Linked DNA regions of Homo sapiens: region 2 is linked to region 1. Evidence: promoter capture Hi-C in 16 types of primary human blood cells and fetal thymus (Javierre and others, 2016). All regions are on one chromosome and are shown on one strand. The core of a region is centred on a gene start or on the middle of the fragment in contact, and the rest is flanking DNA. Distances in the headings are between cores, read along the strand shown.

What was found. The method cuts DNA at HindIII sites, captures the fragments that hold promoters and counts their contacts. A CHiCAGO score of 5 or more calls a contact.
Region 2: a contact is called between the fragment with the promoter of CLSPN-AS1 here and the fragment with the promoter of PSMB2 in region 1, in 2 of 17 cell types (M1 macrophages and erythroblasts). The highest score is 6.7, in M1 macrophages.

Annotation. Positions count from the first base shown.
Region 1 is chr1:35,639,783-35,646,410 of GRCh38, reverse strand. It overlaps PSMB2 (proteasome 20S subunit beta 2), which reads left to right and starts at 4,885. Exons shown (of 6, transcript NM_002794.5): 1 at 4,885-5,069. The coding sequence starts at 4,979. RefSeq lists enhancers at 3,980-4,944, 4,697-5,156, 4,945-5,910. The HindIII fragment of the contact is 1,783 bases long and covers 4,077-5,859 here.
Region 2 is chr1:35,737,191-35,743,051 of GRCh38, reverse strand. CLSPN-AS1 (CLSPN antisense RNA 1) reads right to left here and starts at 3,607. Exons shown (of 2, transcript NR_199043.1): 1 at 3,539-3,607. It overlaps CLSPN (claspin), which reads left to right. Exons shown (of 25, transcript NM_022111.4): 19 at 3,523-3,687; 20 at 3,795-3,916; 21 at 4,470-4,597; 22 at 4,955-5,060; 23 at 5,631-5,713. RefSeq lists enhancers at 3,314-4,513, 4,257-4,758. The HindIII fragment of the contact is 7,776 bases long and covers 1-5,164 here.

The sequences.
Region 1 (6,628 bases), core at 3,636-6,135:
TACATCCCTTTTCACCATAACCCATCCCAGTTAAACACAGGTGAAAGACTGAGCTTTCACCTGCTGTAGCACTGTTACAGGAGGTCGGGAACTATCAATATTCTTTCTACTGCTAGCGTTGGTGTCCTCATCATCCTCTAGGTGGTGAGTGAGCTCACTCCAGAATCCCTTGGAGACTGCTTTCTAGGATGACTTCTGGTGCCAAATGTTTTTTAGTTTGAGTTCCCTAGAAGTGAACCAAAATGAGGATGCTAGTTCAAGTCATTAATTGGGGAAGTATTCTCAGGAGAAGCAGAGTTAGGAAGCAAGATAGGGTAGGGGGAAAAAGCTAAGCACGAACTTGGTCTTGGCTGGAGACCAGCTTTAGACTGATTCCACAGGGAGACTCGGGAGGACAAACTGTATCCCACTTAAATTCAGGGAACTGATTTTTTATTCCTGTGCCAGTCAATCAGTCAATCACTGGCAAGGAGTGGGTACTGGCAAACAGCCTCCTATGCAAGGCGGACTCCTATTTGGCTGAGGAAAATTCTCTGAAGAAAAGGGTAGTTGTGAGTTGTTATCAACCAACATTTATAACAGCTGGGAAATGGGTGCCCAGGTAGGTAAACGGAGTATGGGCAGGGCATCAACAGTATGCAGTACAGTAACTGTCCTGAATGTTTAGGGATGTGCCTCTGATCTCCAGTCTACACTTGTCCCAATCCTATTGTCTAAGCTCACAGGGTCTTTTGAGGGTGAGCTACACTGATGCTTTTATCTCAAGCTTGGGCTTGGGAGTCTTGGCAAGGTTGGTAGCTTCCACATTATGGCCATGTTCCCCAATACTGCAGTCATTCTTCATCACGGTTCTGCCAAACTCTCGCAGAATATGGTTCCTTATACTCATGGAACCAAACAGACCTGCGTCTTTGTCCCATCTCAAGGGAAACACAAAGCAAACCTCTCTTCTGAATGCCTCTTTTATAAATAAGAAAATTGAGGCTCGGGAAGGCTAAACGAATTTTGCAACAAGGCTGAAAAAGGTAAAGCTGGGACCACACTTGGGTGTTGACTTACAGGCCTTCCACTATATCAGGGAGGCAGACTATAGTCCATGAGCCAAGCCCACCTTCCCCCTTCCCCTACCTGTTTTTTAAGCAAAGTTTTATTGGAACACAGCCATGCTCTCTTGTTTATGTATTGTCTATGGCTGCTTTCTCACTGTAATGGCAGTTGTTAGTTGTTAGTAGTTGTTACAGAGAAAGTATGACCTGCAAAGCCAAAAATATTTACTATCTGTAAATATTTTGGCTACATTATGCTACTTCTGTGAACCTCCACAGACTTCTAATTCTAAGACTCAGTTATTCTAAGACTTTAGTTGGAGGAGAGTGACACAGCACAAGCTAGGTCTTGAAAACCTACTTTCTTCTATACTAACAAGAAATGAGGGCAGCTCTAGTGCTACTTAGCTAAAGCAGATTTCAAAAAGTCCTAGGGAGAGCTGGGTGTGGTGTCATGTGACTGTAGTGCAGCTACTTGGGAGGCTGAGGCAGGAGGATCACTTGAACCCAGGATTTTGTCTCAAAAAAATAAAAATAAAAATAAAAAAGCCTGGAAAGAAAGAAGGATGAATCAGCTTAAAAGATAGTCCTTAAAAATAATAATAAAAATACTGTGGATCTTCCAATTCAGAAATCTGCAGCGTTTGTGAATGAATGAATATTGGTATGTACAAAGGAAAAGTCTGGAAGGATACAGACATTCAGTGGGTGGTTACCTTTGGCGGAAGGAAAGGTATTTAACTCTTTGTTTCTTCTATATTGTTTGTGTATGTGTGTATATATAGTATAACTATGTACTTTTTGCAATTAAAAAAACACACAAACACACACAATGAGGATGAGAGAGAGAGAGAGAGAGACCTCCCCCCTCCAAGTGGTATTTAAGAAAACAATCTTTCTAGAGTGATGGATGCAGCTGTGTTCATAGTGGATGGTTGACTTAATGACCTCACTTGCCCCTGGCATCCATCCCATGATTGATAGGCTGCCTCAAACTCCTCAGGCTCTGTGTTCCTTTATGTGCAGGGAGCTGGAAGAAACATTCAGAATAAAGTATTACAATTTCTGCAGAGACAAACGAATTGCATAGTTGTGTTTGGAGATACAACTGCAACTCGTTTCCCATTTCTCAATAAGCTAGTATGAAGACTCAGTTGTGGATGTCAGAAACCCAATCAAGAAATATTTCACCTTTTTTTCAGAATTGCTTCAAGATATAAAGGGATGGCTGTTTTTTTTTCTATTAGAAAAAATACAAATAGTACATGAGCACTGTAAAACATTCAAACAATACCCATGTGTATAAAATAAAAAGTGAAAGTTCTCCCTTCAAATTACACTCACCAGGGTAATAAATGCAAATAATTTGACACTAGAATACCTGTAAACAGGTATTTACAGGTATTCCATTCATATTCAAATATTCATAGTTAAACAAAATGGCATCAGGCTACATATAAAAAAGCATTTTTACTTTCACTTAATGTATCTTGGGCCATGGAATATATAGGTATATTTAGATTCATCTCATTCTTTTTATGGGTGCACAATATTCCACTATGACTGTACTACATTTTTTTTTTTTTTGAGACAGAGTTTTGCCCTTGTTGCCCAGGCTGGAGTGCAGTGGCACGATCTCAGCTCACTGTAACCTCTGTCTCCCAGGTTCAAGCGATTCTCCTGCCTCAACCTCTTGAAGTGGCTGGGATTACAGGCGCCTGCCACCTCGCCCGGCTAATTTTTTGTATTTAGTAGAGACCGGGTTTCACCATGTTGGTCAGGCTGGTCTCGAACTCCTCACCTCACGTGATCCACCTACCTTGGCCTTCCAAAGTGATGGGATTACAGGCATGAGCCACCACACCCGGCCCAACAATGTCTCCACTTTTAGACACGTAAGTTGGTCCTCTTTTGTGTTGTAGTGCTGCAACACTAAATATCTCTCTCTCTTTTTTTTTTTTTTTTGAGAGAGAGTCTTGCTCTGTTGCCCAGGCTGGAGTGTAATGGTGTGATCTTGGCTCACTGCAACCTCTGCCTCCCGGGTTCAAGCGATTCTCTTGCCTTGGCCTCCCCAGTAGCTGGGATTACAGGTGCCGCACCACCACGCCCAGCTAATTTTGGTATTTTTAGTAGAGACGGGGTTTCATCATGTTGGCCAGGCTGGTCTCGAACTCCTGAACTCGTGATCCGCTCGTCTTGGCCTCCCAAAGTGCTAGGATTACTGGCGTGAGCCACTGCCCCTGGCAACACTGAGTATCTCGGTACACAAATATTTGGACTGTGTGTCCAAACATTTCTTTTGGACATATTCAAAAGGTTATGCATATTTAACAGATATTAAAATTGTTCTCTATAAAAAGGTTGTACAACTTAGAACCTTACCCCCAATTTATACTTTCTCATTGTTTCTTATTTCCCATTTTCCTAATTACCATCAAGGTTGAGGATCTTTTCATGTTTATTGGCCATTCGTGTTGCTTCTTTTGTGAATTGTTTTTCTTAGTCTTTGGTCTTTTTTTATTTTTTATTTTTTTTTTTGAGATGGAGTCTCTCTGTTGCACAGGCTGGAGTGGAGGGGCGCTATCTCGGCTCACTGCAATCTCCGCCTCCTAGGTTCAAGCAATTCTCCTGCTTCAGCCTCCGGAGTAGTACAGGCGCCTGCCACCACGCCCAACTAATTTTTTGTATTTTTAGTAGGGACGGGGTTTCACCATATTGGCCAGGCTGTTCTCGAACTCCCGACCTCTTGATCCGCCCCCGTGCCCTGCCGGGTCTTTTAAAAATGGTATTGTCTCACCCGGCTCCCCTCCCATTGGTTTGTAGGAATATCTTTTAAGTTATAGATATTAACTTTTTCCTTTCTTCTGTCTATAAGGTCCAAAATAGTAACTATTTCTACAATTGAAACATTCCCAATTTACATTTACTGTTGAGCATGATAATGACTTTCACCACATAGAGACGTGTAATTTTAGGTAGTCAAATCTGTCAAGTCTTTTCTCATATTGCTTCTGGGTTCCCTGTCAAGCTTAGAAACACATCTCTTCCAAAAATTACAGAAATATTTTTCTACTTTTTCTTCCATGTTTGTATCTCTCTCCCTCTCTTTTTTTTTTTTTTTTTTTTTTTTTTTTTTTTTTTTTTTTTTTTGAGACGGAGTTTCGCTTTTGTTGCCCAGGCTGGAGTGCTCACCGCAACCTCCGCCTCCAGGGATCAAGCGATTCTCTGTCTCAGCCTCCAGAGTAGCTGGGATTACAGGCATGCGCCACCACGCCCAGCTAATTTTGTATTTTTAGTAGAGACGGGGTTTCTCCATATTGGTCAGGCTGGTCTCGAACTCCCAAGCTCAGGTGATCCGCCTGCCTTGGCCTCCCAAAGTGCTGGGATTACAGGCGTGAGCCACTGCGCCCGGCCATGCTTATATCTTTAATCCAACCATATACTATTTTTGTGAAGGATGGAAGTAAGGCTCCCCTCAAGTTAATTTTTCTCCAATCTGGCTTGCAGGAAAGGGGTTTCTGGGGAGATTTTACCGAGCAACGTAGGGAAACGGCTGCCTGGCTACCTACCCCTTTTTGACACCCACACGTGCTCGGCACCTTACATACACTGCGTGATTTTATCCTAAAGCCACTTTTAAAATCTTAGTGTGTAAACAGAGAAACTGGGCGTCACATAAGGCAAGTGACCTGCACAGCCTGCTCCGGAGGAGACCCGTACGATCCCAGAGACAAGCACTGAACATAAGGCACCCGGCGCCGCGCCCGCTTTGCAACCTCTCGCGACAGTTGTACGTCATCCGAGAGCGCCGTGGAAGTCGTGCTGCAGGCGTCGCGCCAATCTTCGCTCTGAGGTGCTGTCTCACCGGTGAGACCTGGAAGCGGGCGAGTCTCGTGCTGTGTCGGACCTGCAGCCCCTGGCCTTCCGCCACCATGGAGTACCTCATCGGTATCCAAGGCCCCGACTATGTTCTTGTCGCCTCCGACCGGGTGGCCGCCAGCAATATTGTCCAGATGAAGGACGGTGAGAGGAAGCAGGGGAGGCCCGGCCAGGCCTGGGGTGTAGGAGCGGCCAGAAGGAGTTTGTCGGGGGTTGAATAAGTACCAGGGAGGATCTGAGAGATGGAAGCCGGCCTGCCCTGCCCGTACTTATTTTATTTATTTATTTATTTTTTCGAGAGGGGTTTCGCTCTTGTTGTCCAGGCCGGAGTGCAATGGCGCGATCTCGGCTTAGCACAGTCTTTGTCTCCCGGGTTCAAGCGATTCTCGTGCCTCAGCCTCCCGAGTAGCTGGGAACAGATATGCGCCACCACGCCTGGCTAATTTTTGTATTATTAGTAGAGATGTGGATTTCTCCATATTGGTCAGGCTGGTCTCGAACTCCCGACCTCAGGAGATCCGCCCGTCTCGGCCTTCCAAAGTGCTGGGATTACAGGCGAAACAGGCAGACAGGTCTGGGACCTTGGCATTTGCTCCTCCAGGGCTCCTGGGTCAGTGCTCTGCTCTGGCCTTCGCTAAATGCTTCTTGCTTGGTGAGAGTTGCCTAAAGGGAATCAGTTTATAAATGTTTAAGCGCCTGCCCAGAGCCTGGCTCTCTAGATCCCCGAATCTCTGATAAGTTTCCTGGTGTCGCTAGTAATGAGGTTAGTTTGTTGGCGGCATAAGGTGGGATCCTGAGGAGAGTGAGACTGTGGGACTGGCTCTCTAGATCCCCGAATCTCTGATAAGTTTCCTGGTGTCGCTAGTAATGAGGTTAGTTTGTTGGCGGCATAAGGTGGGATCCTGGGGAGAGTGAGACTGTGGGACCAGAAGCTTGGCATTTTCCTTCTTCCCGTGGCTCCCGATTCTTCTTTTCCAGTTTTCCAGAGCAATGGCTGCCAGGTTTTCCTTATATTTAAGTAGTTAATGGAGTTAAGAGATTGGAGCCCTGTCATTTATTTGCCTTATGAGTTTGTATAAGTTATTTTGCAGTGCCCAGATTTCCTCATCTTTAAGATTAGCAATACCAAACTCACAAACTTGTCGGGAGGATTTAGTAAATGAGTTATGTGCAAATCCTTAGCACTAGGCAGGTACTTAATAATACTAAGTGTACGTAGGTGCCCAAACATATTTGTCAAATGACCATTAAGTCATCTGAACCAAAGCTTAATACTTTTTCAACAGTAGCACGTCTTTGATCAGTTAAGGAAAACAAACTTAGATTCTGCAGAAAAACAACCAAAATCTTCTTAAAATTATGTATTGAGTAATTTAGTATAGATAGTATAGTATAGTATAGTATAGTATAGTATAGTATAGTATATTATAGTACTTAGGGGCAAAATGTCTGGACTCACTGCATAGGTTGAACCCAGGTTCTGCCACTTGTGACCTTAAGCAAATTTCTCTAACTCCGTGCCCTAGAGCTAACATCTATAAGGTGGTAATGTAATAGCACCTATCTCAAAAGGTTAATGAATTAATGTAAATCACTTAACATAGCACCTTATACTTTATGAAATTCTATGATTAGTTTGTAGAAGTTTTGTTTGTAAGCCAGTCCTTCCAAAGGAGTGAATTTGTTTTGAGAGTAAATTTGTC
Region 2 (5,861 bases), core at 2,358-4,857, 98 kb before region 1:
ATTTTGGGAGGCTGAAGCAGGCGGATCACCTGAGGTCAGGAGTTCAAGACCAGCCTGGTCTTGGTGACACAGGTCAAGAGATCGAGACCATCCTGACAAACATGGTGAAACCCTGTCTCTACTAAAAAATATAAAAATTAGCCAGATGTGATGACAGGTGCCTGTAGTCCCAGCTACTCAGGAAGCTGAGGCAGGGAGAATCGCTTGCACCCAGGAGGTGGAGGTTGCAGTGAGCCGAGATCGCACCACTGCATTTCAGCCTGGGTGACAGAGCGAGACTCTGTCTCAAAAAAAAAAAAAAAAAAAAAGTTGATCACTTAATATGTCCTGTGTGCTAATAACTGTGCTTTACAGGCATTAACATATTATCTTATGCCAGGCACAGTGGCTCACGCCTGTAATCCCAGCACTTTGGGAGGCCAAGGCAGGCATATTACTTGAGGTCAGGAGTTTGAGACCAGCGTGACCAACATGGTGAAACCCTCTCTACTAAAAATACAAAATACAAAATAAAATACAAAAATTAGCCAGGCATGGTTCTGGGCGCCTGTAGTGCCAGCTACTTGGGAGGCTGAGGCAGGAGAATTGCTTGAATATGGGAGGCGGAGGTTGCAGTGAGCCAAGATTGCCCCACTGCACTCCAGCCTGGGTGATAGAGCAAGACTCCATCTCAAAAAAATTATCTTATGAGTGGGTACTATTATTCTCCTCATTTTACAGTTGAAGGAACTGAGCCTCAGAAAGATTAAATTTACCCAAGATCACATAGCTAGAAGGCAGCAGAGGCTGGATTCAACTTAGATTAGGTGAAATCTCCCCTAACAGTCAGTTAATAGTTTGCCACTTTTTAACTTAAATCCTCCTGCCTCAGCTTCCCAAGTAGCTGGGACAACAGGCATGTGCCACCACACCTGGCTAATTCTTTCTATTTTTTGTAGAGATGGGGCCTTGCTTTGTTCCCAGGCTGGTCTTAAACTGTTGGCCTCAAGTGATCCTCCTGCCTCTGCTTCCCAAAGTCTGGGATTACAGGCATGAGCCACCAGGCCCAGCTTTTTTTTTTTTTTTTTTTTTTTTTTTTGAGACGGAGTCTCGCTCTGTCGCCCAGGCTGGAGGGCAGTGGCATGATCTCGGCTCACTGCAACCTCCGCCTCCCGGGTTCAAAGCGATTCTCCTGCTTCAGCCTCCTGAGTAGCTGGGAATATAGGCACGTGCCACCACACCCAGCTAATTTTTGTATATTTAGTAGAGACGGGGTTTCACCATGTTGGTCAGGATGGTCTCGATCTCTTGACCTCACGATCCACCCGCCTTGGCCTTCCAACATGCTGGGATTACAGGCGTGAGCCACCCCACCTGGCCGGCCCAACTCATTTTTTTGATATGCTGTTCTGGTCATGAAAGTAAAATATTTATTTTAGGATATTTAAAAGAATACAAACTGGGTGCAGTGGCCCACGCCTATAATCTCAGCACTTTGGGAAGCTGAGGCGGGTGGATCACCTGAGGTCAGGAGTTCGAGACCAGCCTGGCCAACATGGCGAGACCCCGTCTCTACTAAAAATACAAAATTAGCCAAGCGTGATGGCCAGTGCCTGTAATCCCAGCTACTCAGGAGGCAAAGCTGGAGAATCGCTTGAACCGGGAGGTGGAGGGTGCAGTGAGCTGAGATTGTGCCATTGCATTCCAGCCTGGGCGACGAGAGAAACTCCATTCTCCCCGACCCCCGCAAAAAAAGAATACAGAAAGATATAAATAAAAACTTATCCATGTCCACCATCCAGGATATAAATGAAAGTTAGTTTGTTCCCCTTAATCTTTTTTATGCATATATTTTTATATAGTTGAGATTTGTACAATCTTTCTATATGTATAATTTTGCATCTTTTTTTTTCTACTTAGCATATCCAGAAACATTTTCCTATGATGTTAAAAAAAGTTTTATAAAGATAATTCTAATAGGTATTTAATATTATATTGTATGTGAATGATTTGGAATTCACATATAGGACATCATATTGATCCCTATTAGATTTATATGGTTGCTTTTATCCCATCATTTCATTCTATTAAGATTCACTTTGGGTTCTAATTTATCACCTATCAAATTAACTCTCATACAGCTTTAGGTTATCCATAGATTTTTCTAAGGTAGTGGTTCTTCTCTGCAGAGCTCTTTGTTCAAATAAAATCTTTTAAAGAATGACAGATAAAAGTTGAACTGTTCAAAGATGGTAAGTGGGAAGTTTGGGAAACTTAGTGACTAGTGGCCTCTGAAGGAATTTTCCAGGAACTCTAGGATTTAGAACAACTTAGCTTTAAGAAAATACAGTATAGGCTGGGCGTGGTGGCTCATGCCTGTAATCCCAGCACTTTGGGAGGCTGAGATGGACAGATCCCCTGAGGTCAGGAGTTCAAGACCACCCTGGCCAACATGGTGAAACCCTATCTCTACTAAAAAAACAAAAATTAGCCAGGCATGGTGGCACGCACCTGTAATCCCAGCTACTCGGGAGGTTGAGGCATGAGAATCACTTGAACCCAGGAGGTGGAGGTTGCAGTGAGCCGAGATGGCATCTCTGCACTCCAGCCTAGGCGACAGAGCGACACTTCATCTCAAAAAAAAAAAAAAAGAGAAAATACAGTATAGGTCTTCGATAAAAATCAGTTTTCAGAAAGCCACCAAACTTCTGCCATTTTGGACCACATGGGACCAAGGTGACTTTGAATCCAGGGTGACACCAGATTTATTCTCCGGGGGAGCTGAAGTCATAAGAAGTAACTAGTCGTTTTGATTACCAGGAGCTCTGAGCCTTAGTCTTCCTTCTGATGTGGGGGTCAAGATTTGTTAGGCTGTAAGAAGATCCCAGTTTATTACCTTTCTACACCACACCATCTCTAGTTTGTCTCTTAAAGCTGGTGTGCTCAAATGCAAAATGAAATAGTTTGAACCTTCCAGCAGGTATTCTAATACATGTAAAAGAGATTAAGAGTTTTCTGGCTTTCAAATCACCCAATCTAAGTTGAATCCAGGCTCTGCTACCTTCTAGCTATGTGACCTTGGGTAAATGTAATCTTTCTGAGGCTCAATTCCCTCAACTGTAAAATGAAGAGAATAATAGTACCCATTCCTATGATAATATGTTAATGCCTGTAAAGCACAGTTATTAGCACACAAGACATATTAAGTGATCAACTTTTAAATACAGATGCTCCACATCTTACAATGGGACTATATCCTGATCAATCCATCATAAGTTGAAAATGCACTTTCATATTATCCAGATATAACTCCATCGTAAATCGAGAAGCATACTAAGTGCGTATCACATTCATGTCATCGTAAAGTTGAAAAATCATTAAGTCAAACCATCATAAGTGGAGACTATTACAAAAAAATTTAAATATTATCAAATGTATTATGTTTATTATTATTAGAAGTGACTCTGTTCTGCTTTTCTTTGCTTCCATATTCTGTGAGTATATTCATTGTTGCATTTTCTAATCCTCAAAATTGCTTTCTAGGAGGTTGAGGAAATACCTGGAGGATGAGGCAGAGGTGTCAGGAAGTGATGTGGGAAGCGAAGATGAGTATGATGGGGAAGAAATTGATGAATATGAAGAGGACGTAATTGATGAAGTACTTCCTTCTGATGAGGAACTGCAGAGTCAAATCAAGAAAATACACATGTCAGTATCCCAATAAGCCCTTCTGAGTAATAGGGTACATCTTAAGACAAGCCCTGTAACCAGCCAGAATGGTCCTTGTTTTGAACACCTTATTTCTCCTGTTGCAGGAAAACTATGTTGGATGATGATAAGCGACAGCTACGTTTATACCAAGAGAGGTACCTTGCTGATGGGGATCTGCACAGCGATGGTCCTGGGCGAATGAGGAAGTTTCGATGGAAAAACATAGGTATCTTGGTTGTTGTCTTTAAAAGCAATCAGTTACGGGCTGAGCATGGTGGCTCACGCCTGTAATCCCAACACTTTGGGAGGCAGAGGCAGGTGGATCACAAGGTCAGGAGTTCAGGACCAGCCTGAACAACATGGTGAAACCCCGTCCCTACTAAAAGTTCAAAAATTAGCAGGCTGTGATGGCACGCGCCTGTAATCCCAGCTACTCAGGAGGCTGAGGCAGGAGAATTGCGTGAACCCGGGAGACGGAGGTTGCAGTGAGCAGAGATCATGCCATTGCACTCCAGCCTGGGCGACAGAGCGAGACTCCATCTCAAAAAAAAAAAAAAAAAAGCAAACAGTTACAATGCATATTTGTCGAGTTTCAGATGGCAAATGGCAAGCAAAACTATAACAGGCTATGTGAAGACCTAGTTGTAACTGTTTTCTGTTAATGGATGGGAAAAGTTTACATCATTATATAGTAAATGATAAGGGTTTATTTTTTGTCTGTCCAAGCACCCTCTCCTGTGAGGACTGCCGAATGCTGATTACCTTCACTCTTTGTTTAGATGATGCTTCCCAGATGGACTTGTTCCACAGAGACTCTGATGATGATCAGACTGAAGAACAGCTTGATGAGTCAGAAGCCAGGTGGAGGAAGGAGCGAATTGAACGAGAGCAGTGGCTTCGGGACATGGTAGGAGTTCACCTACTCTGACCCTAGTTTATGAGACTGTCCCTTAGCTTGTCATGATAGTTTCAAAATCTTAGCTTGTCATGATAGTTTCAAAATCTTAGGCAACATATTGCTATCTCTTTTAATCCTTGAGCTATCTTTTGTGTTTTGAGAAGGCTATACCATAGACAGTTCTCTTCATGTTTGTCTAAGATTAATTTTTTTTTGTCTAAAGCAGCAAAGGCTGCAAAAAGGAAAACAAATACCCCAGGAACTCTAGTTTCACAATCCAGGCCATGCTAACTATTTAGGAAGGTTATAGACTTTTAATGCTGTATATATATATATATATATATATATATTTTTTTTTTTTTTCAGGCACAGCAGGGGAAAATTACAGCTGAAGAAGAAGAAGAAATTGGGGAGGACAGTCAGTTTATGATACTGGCCAAGAAAGTTACAGCCAAAGCACTGCAGAAGAATGGTGAGCTCTTGTTTCTCCTTAGGGTCTAGCCCCCTGGATTGTTAGTGGTAGAGCTTTGGAGGTGACTCTAACCTTCAGGAGCTGTTGCAGCTTAATCATAAGCTTGTGTCTAATACTGTCTTAAAGAGGCTTCACAGAGGTGGTGGGAGACAGTGTACTTAGATCTTAGACTATTGGGCAGTAGAGACTGTATTCATGAGTATATGTGGCTGGTTTTACTTTATGTTCTAAGGCTCAGAGTAGTTAATTCTGGCTTTCTCTAGTTGCCCAGGATTGTATACCTAAGTGTTAGAGGTAGGATTTGAATCCAGGAATATTTAACTCCAGAAATGAAGCTCTTCACTATTCCCTACACTGACCACTTCTGTTTTTCTTAAATGATTACTGTTCAACTTAGTTGTGTCTCTTCTTGGAGCCAATTATTATAGTTTGAAAGTCACCATTATATAGAACAGAGTTCCCATGGCTTTAGCATATTGATTTAGTTACAAGATTTCTTAGCTTGTTTAGATTTAAAAGTAATTCTAATCAGCTTTTCCCAGAATAGGCCTCTCTGTCTTTTCTTTCCAGCCAGTCGCCCTATGGTTATTCAGGAATCAAAGTCTTTGCTCAGAAATCCTTTTGAAGCCATCAGACCAGGAAGTGCTCAACAGGTTGGTTGGGAACCTTGTTAATCTGACATCATAGTCTACAGGTTATAAAGGCCCAGGTCCAGCTTAGAGAATAGTCTCTGTCATTAGAGGAAGGAGGTGGCTGCAGGGAAAAAGTTAATGTCAAAGGAGTCTGCTATTTCTTTTCTAT